2 separate regions of the Homo sapiens genome follow, and region 1 is linked to region 2. The links are contacts of gene promoters, found by promoter capture Hi-C in human tissues and cell types (Jung and others, 2019). All regions are on one chromosome and are shown on one strand. Each heading gives the region's core, a stretch centred on a gene start or on the middle of the fragment in contact. The rest is flanking DNA. Distances are from core to core; before and after follow the strand shown. Region 1 overlaps KIF1A (kinesin family member 1A). Region 2 holds the start of DUSP28 (dual specificity phosphatase 28).

Region 1 (3,716 bases), core at 346-2,845, 250 kb after region 2:
TCAGCGACTTCAGATATTAAAATTGTGAAATACAGATTATAAAAATAAGTTGGCTTAAATGTTCTAAGAAATAAGCAGAACTGAAAAACAATGGGGTAACATATGGGAAAGAACCATGCAGAACTTTTAGAAATAAAATGTAATTATTTAAAACTGAAAACTTAGCAGACATGCTAATCAGCAAATTAAATGGAGCTCAACACAGAATTAATGAACTGGAAAATATGTCAGAAAAAAATTACCCAAAATGATCCCAGAAAGAAAAAAAGGGCGAAAATATAAAACCAAAGTTCAGAGTCAAGTAATATGGAGGAATTCATTAATTTATCATGACAGGGATTTTAACACACTTCTCACTAATTGGTAGATCAAGCAGATATATAATTAATAAGAGCATAGCATGAATAACACAATAATCATAAATTAATGGACATATGTGCCTCTCGCAGAAAATTAGAGCAACATTCTTTTCCATTACATATGGAACATTTACAATATTTTACCATGTACTAGACCATAAAGCAACTCCCAGTAGCTTTCAAAGACCTGTATAAAATGAATCATGTAATTTGAACACAATTAGACTAAAAATTAATTTAAAAATAATTAAAAACCCATATGTTTAGAAATTTAAAAAATAAACTTCTAAATAACAAACCAAAGGAAAAATCATGATGAAAATATAAAAATACTTACTAAATGGAAATGAAAACACTAATAGCAAAACATGGAGTTTTCATGTCCAGCCATGACAGAGTCCCAGGGACCAGGCTTAACCTCTCACTGTAAACAATAACTAGCAAAGAAGACAAAATATACGAAAATACTGGTGTTCAGACATCAGACAATAGGCAGTGCAGGACTGTGATCCCTGAGAGAAGGGGCACATACTAGGTGAGCCCTGTGATCACTCCAAATCTGCCTGGAGGCAGGCACAGCAAGGTAGGACCCAAGCGCCTTGGCAGCTTTGACAGGTTGAGAAGATGGTGGTCAGAGTTTGGGTGGGCAGAGGCAGCTGGAGGTTGTGAGTCAGAGTTCTGGAAGAAAGGAGCTGCTCAGCAGAAGTCCAGAAATTTGCACCGGGGTACACTTGAGTCTTTTCAGAGTACTAGTCCATTCCTGGATAATCCAGACACAAAAAGACTGGGCCGTTGTAATCTGAACAATTCTCAAAACTCACACAAGGTAAGGAGACATCTGTGATCCTATCAGCCAGAACAGGGAGTCCTCTTGAGCCTCCACTCCAGATATTCCGTGGAGACCCTGGAGAAGGCATGCCCTAGGTGGGGGACTAAACTATTCCTGCAGGTGGTCTACTCTAGACCAGCTCTAGAAAAGCTTAAGAACAGGCCTTGACTGATCAAACTGGTCTTCAAGTAAGTTAAGCGCCTGCCAAGACAAAGCCCAACATGCACTAAAGCAAGAAATAGAAGTCAGACTCTCTAAAAACTAAAAATCATGTCTAGCATCCAATCAAAAATTACTAGACCTGCCAAGAACCAGGAAAATGTGATGCATAACTATGAGAAAAATAAGCAATAGAAACATGAATTTTCCTACAATTATTAAAGAAATTGATCCAATAGTTTAAAAATCTACCCACAAAAAAAGGCAGCAGATTCAGACACTTCTTATAGGTGAGTTCCACCATACATTTGTTTAAAAGATAATATCAGTCCTATACAAACTCTTTATGAGAATGGAGGAAAGAGAGGGAAACACCCAAAGAATATAAAGTCGTCCCTCAGTATCAGTAGGAGATTGGTTCCAGGACCCCCCACAGATACCAAAATCCACAGATGCTCAAGTCCCTCATATGAGCTGGTGTACTATTTGCATTTGACCTACACATCCTCATATATATGTGTGTGTGTGTGTGTGTGTGTGTGTGTGTGTGTGTGTGTGTGTGTGTGTGTATATATATATATATATATATACACAGAGAGAGAGAGAGAGTTTCACTCTTGTTGCTCAGGCTGGAGTGCAATGGTGTGATCTCAGCTCACCGCAACCTCTGCCTCCCGGGTTCAAGCGATTCTCCTGCCTCAGCCTCCCTAGTATGCGCCACTAGGCATGCACCACCATGCCCAACTAATTTTGTATTTTTAGTAGATACATGGTTTCTCCATGTTGGTCAGGCTGGTCTTGAACTCCCGACCTCAGATGATCTGCCCGCGCTGGCCTCCCAAAGTGCTGGGATTACAGGCATGAGCCACCGCACCCAGCCCCTTCCATATATTTTAAATCATCTCAAGATTAGTTATAATACCTAATACAATGTGAATGCTATGTATTAATAAATAGTTGCTATACTGTATTGTCCAGGTAATAGTGACAAGGGAAAAACATTTGTACATGTTCAGTATAGACAAACCATTCTTTTTTTCCAAAAATTTTGATCTGGTTGAATTCACAGATGCAGAACCCACAGATATCGAGAGCCAACTGTACTCCTAGCTCATTCACTGATGCTAATAGAATTTTAGCATCAAAGTAAACAAGAAAAAATTGAGAAAGATTATAGACCAGTTTCACTGATGAACATAGGTACAAAAGTCTGAAAAATTAGCAAGAAAATACAGTAACAAATAAAAAGGGCAATGCAGGTAAGCATATTCCAGGAATACCAGTATAGCTTGACATTAGGATAGCTATTATTATAATTTTCAAATTAAAGAAGAAAGAATATGAGGCCCTCAATAGATACTAAAAAAGCATTCCATAATTTTCAAGACTCATTTGTGATAAAATTCTAAGCAATATTAGAATAAAAGAAAACTTTTTTAACCTCATAATAGCTATCTACTAAAAACCTACCCAAACATCACACTTAATGGTAAAATGATAGGAACATTTCCTTTATATTCAGAAACAAGTCCAGGATGCTTGCTATCTCTACTTCTATTTAACATTGTAGGAGAGGTTCTGGCCAAACCAGTAAGACAGGAAAATAACAAACAACATAAATATGAATTTGAAAGAAAGAAACCAAACTGTCATTATCTGCAGACCATTTGCTCATCTACACATAAATCAAGAGAATCCACAGAAAAAATATTTGAATTAGGAAGGTTCAATAAGGTTGTAGAAATCAAGAACATTCTTATATACCTGATAAAGAATTAAAACATATTTTAAGGTATCCTTTAAAATAATAACCCAACCTGGCACAGTGGCTCACACCTGTAGTCCCAGCTACCATGGAGGCTGAGGTAGAAGGATTGCTTGAGCCCAGGAATTCAAGACCAGCCTGAGCAACATAGCAAGACCCATTTCTAAAACAAAAAAAAAAAATTTTTTTTTTTTAATTAGCCAGGAGTAGTGGCAACATCTGTAGTACCAGCTCCTTGGGAGGCTGAGGTAGGAGGATCACTTGAGCTCAGGAGTTCGAGGCTGCGGTGAGCTAATGATCACACCACTGCACTCCAGGCTGGGCAACAGAGCAAGATCTTCTCTCTAAAAAATAAATAAATAAAATAATAACCCAAACTATAGAGTACCTAGGAATAAATGTCACTAACTTTTTTTTTTTGAGATGGAGTCTCACACCGTCGCCTGGGATTGGAGTGCAACGGTGCGATCTTGACTCACTGCAACCTCCGCCTCCTGCGTTCAAGTGATTCTCCTGCCTCAGCCTCCCGAGTAGTTGGGATTACAGGCGCCCACCACCACGCCCGGCTAATTTTTTGTATTTTTAGTAGAGATGGGGTTTCACT
Region 2 (3,677 bases), core at 1,128-3,627:
TGCGCCTACGGAGAGCGTCGCGTTTCCCTGGAGACAGCCCCGCCCCATGCCCGCTGCCACTCTCCGGCTCCGCCAATCCCCCCGCCAGGACGCACCCGGCCCCGCCTCCGGGCGTGCCCGCCCTCTGTGACTTCAGGGGCTTGGGGCCGACACCCCGCGGGCCTCGGTGCCAGCCTCCCGCTTACCCGGTCAGCCCCTGGGCCGAGTACCCCTGGGAGAGAAAGCGCTAAATTCCCCCAACACTCCCGTGATGGGGGCACAGGGAGCGCCGTGGGACACCTGAGGAAACTGAGGCCCAAGTGTTAATTAACTTGCCCTGATCACCTAGCACGTGGAGCCACGACTTGCTCAAGCCCTGCCTGATTCCAGCCCCGGCCTTTGTTCATTCAGTAAATGTGGAAGGCGCAAGGGTAACTCGAGGCCTGCGGAGGGAACGAGATGAGGGAGGCCGCAAGAGTCACCGCAGAGAAGAGGGATTGGCTGTCTTGGACCCTCCGAGGGCCTCGGGGAAGGACTGCAGGAGAGCGGATTCTTGATGGGGCTTCACAGGATGCGCAGGAGCTCTCCAGGCTACAGAGCGCATTTCAGGAACTGGACTGGGATGTACAGAGGCACCATGGTGGGAAACAGCTGGGCCTTCCTGCAAAGAGGGGAGAGGCTCTTGGAGGTGCAGGGCTTGCGTTTTCTCAACCCAGACTGCCTCTGAGAACAGGGCAGGGGGTGTGAAGAGCTGATGCCCTGGCCCTCCCCACTGGCTAGCTTTCCGGGGACTAAGGACTAAGGCTGGGCCAGGATTCTGGGGTTCTAGGGGCTCTGCCTCCACACGCCAGTGCCTGTCTGTTGAGTTCACTTCTCTCTAAAATCTCATTTTACACCACGACCCAGTACAAACCACTCAGAAAAATGTTTCATTAAAAGTTCGGCATACTACATGCATGCACTCTAATATTTTCATGTAGTCTATTATTTCTCTAAAAACTAAAATGCTGATCATGACCCACAGAATTGATTTCACAACCCACATTAGTTGTGAATTACAACTTGCTAAGGAGTCAGAACCAACATGTAGAAACCCTCTGTTCTTAGCAAGCACATTCTGGTTACACTGTGGGGGACTAGCACCAAGTCCAGGAGACAGAGGCTGGCCCAGACTAAGTGTGGCAATGAGATGCAGAGACACTTAGGATGAATTGGTTCCCAATCCATTACCTCAATGGAGTGGGAGCATGATGGTTCAAGTAGCAGGCTTTGGAGCAGAAAACCCACCTCAACCATCCTCCAACCGTAAAGGGTGATGATGATTCATGAAACAGTCCAGGAGGAGGAGGGACTTCAGGTTTTGTTTGATTCATTTCAGTGGCCCAACAGTGGCATCAAGGACCTTGGCTCTCCCATCTCCTCTGCTTTCACCCAAGGCTGGCTTCCCCTTATGGCCATGAGAGAACAGAGGAGCCTTCCAAAGTGCTCTCTCCTTCATGGGTTATTAGACACCAAGCTCATTCCCAGAGCAGTCACGGGAGTGTGGCCTTCACTTTTGGCCAGAGACAGAGCCAACTCCTAGAAAGCGGAGGGAGACAGTGTCCCAACCTAATCAATGGCTCCCATGAACGCCAGGGAAAAAAAGGGAATTCCACTCCTCCATCCTAGGAAAGTTGGAGTCCTTCCTTAGGGTGGAGGAAGTGGGAAACAGATGCTGATAAGACCTCCACGGAGGTGATGTCTGGAGCTGCAACCAGGGAAGACCTGGCTGCAGACATATTTGAGTCTTTAGCTCAAGAGTGAACCCCAGGCTGCAATAAAGATCTGACAGTTACCAATGCTAGAAGGCTGATGGACAAAGCAATGACGATAACCCAGAGAGAGACTGTATGCAACTGAAACTTCAATTGCTAAATGTCTGTAGGGCTGTTGAGACAGTTGCTTTTCAGTGTATCCATTGCCTGAAAATTACCAGATGTCAGAAAAATTGAAGGAGTCTTAAATGGCAATTTCATGGACATTAAGTGATATTAAATTTTTTAAAGTTACAATGCTGACCCCAATAAATTACTTAGAAACAGCAAAAGGAATAGTGTGGTCTATGAAGAAGTGATGAAAATAGAAATTAGTTTTATTTTATGAGCCATGTGTTATAATACATAGAAAAAAATGCACCAATTACAAAGCGGGCCACAAAAAGGAATAAACGTAAAGCCGACAACGCAGTCACTAGGGAAAGGGTGAAGACACGGGAACCACGCAGCCCGCCGTCCACGTGCACCGGGTAGCCACGGGGCCCTAGCCGAACGACGCGGACGCGAAGTGGGCGGGCCCGGCCAAGCCACGCCTCCGCGCCAGACGCCGCAGTAGAGCGGGCAGGGCGCTGCGCCCAAGAGCCACAGACGCAAGCCCAGTGCCACAGGCCGCGGGGGCGGGGAGGACGGCGCCCGGGGACAGAGAACATGGGACGCAGAGCGGTCCAAGGCCCCGGCGCCCTGGTGAGGCCCAAACCTCCCGCCATGCCCCGGCCCCAACGAGACCCAAGCCCCCTGTCCCGGCCCAGCGCCCGCGGGGGACCCAAGCCCCAGCCTGGTCCACCTCGGAGGCCTCTAGGACCCGGGGGCGCCCGGCGGCCCGCCCGGCTCCCACAAATAGACTCCTGGGCGGGCGCCTGAGCCCCCAAAATAGATCCTCAGGGCCCAAAAGCAGACTCTTCGGCGGGCGCCATGGGACCGGCAGAAGCTGGGCGCCGCGGGGCCGCCTCGCCCGTACCTCCACCGTTGGTGCGCGTCGCGCCCTCACTCTTCCTCGGGAGCGCGCGAGCCGCGGGCGCGGAGGAGCAGCTGGCGCGCGCGGGAGTCACGCTGTGCGTCAACGTCTCCCGCCAGCAGCCCGGCCCGCGCGCGCCCGGCGTGGCAGAGCTGCGCGTGCCCGTGTTCGACGACCCGGCTGAGGACCTGCTGGCGCACCTGGAGCCCACGTGCGCCGCCATGGAGGCCGCGGTGCGCGCCGGCGGCGCCTGCCTAGTCTACTGCAAGAACGGCCGCAGCCGCTCGGCCGCCGTCTGCACCGCGTACCTCATGCGGCACCGCGGCCTCAGCCTGGCGAAGGCCTTCCAGGTGGGCGGGCCTTTAGGGGGGCGGTGTTTCGAGAGGGGCGTGTCTTCCGGGGACGAGTTTTCCGGGCGGGGCCGGCTTCGGGATTGGGACAGGCACTTCCGGGAGGGGCGGGTCTCTCTCGTGAGGGCGGGCTTAGGGAAGCAGAGAGGCACTTCCGGGTTGGGCGGGGCCCACTCTTACAGCTGGGCCCGCCTTGGCCCCTGCTGGCCATTAGCGCGACTTGGGGTTATTCAGTACACTTCTTGTTTGCAGATGGTGAAGAGCGCTCGCCCGGTAGCAGAACCGAACCCGGGCTTCTGGTCTCAGCTCCAGAAGTATGAGGAGGCCCTCCAGGCCCAGTCCTGCCTGCAGGGAGAGCCCCCAGCCTTAGGGTTGGGCCCTGAGGCTTGAAGCTTGAAGGCCTGCTGCCTGGAGGAAGGATGTCCCTGCACTGATACAGAAGGCTGGTCTTTACCCTTCTTCCTCACTGTCATATCGAGTTTTCCTTTGTGTGTGTGTGTGTGAAACATAGTGCTTTTAATTTTATATTTCCGGCTGAGGTGATGCACAAATTATCTTACAGACACAAAAAGAAATACA

What was found. The method cuts DNA at HindIII sites, captures the fragments that hold promoters and counts their contacts. A contact is called where the count stands out against the background at its distance.
Region 1: a fragment that was not itself captured here is called in contact with the fragment with the promoter of DUSP28 in region 2 in 1 of the 25 tissues and cell types used here (dorsolateral prefrontal cortex).

What each region holds. Positions count from the first base shown.
Region 1 is chr2:240,805,216-240,808,931 of GRCh38, forward strand. The region is part of intron 1 of KIF1A (kinesin family member 1A); the gene reads right to left. Among named protein-coding and RNA genes, the nearest start is that of KIF1A, 13 kb to the right of the region's middle. The HindIII fragment of the contact is 7,215 bases long and covers 1-3,716 here.
Region 2 is chr2:240,557,980-240,561,656 of GRCh38, forward strand. DUSP28 (dual specificity phosphatase 28) reads left to right here and starts at 2,378. Exons shown (of 2, transcript NM_001370465.2): 1 at 2,378-3,098; 2 at 3,351-3,677. The coding sequence starts at 2,706. The coding sequence ends at 3,488. ANKMY1 (ankyrin repeat and MYND domain containing 1) reads right to left here and starts at 9. Exons shown (of 18, transcript NM_001282771.3): 1 at 1-9. RefSeq lists silencers at 1-168, 2,227-2,636, 2,817-2,866 and enhancers at 2,963-3,104, 3,137-3,206, 3,237-3,596. The HindIII fragment of the contact is 5,674 bases long and covers 207-3,677 here.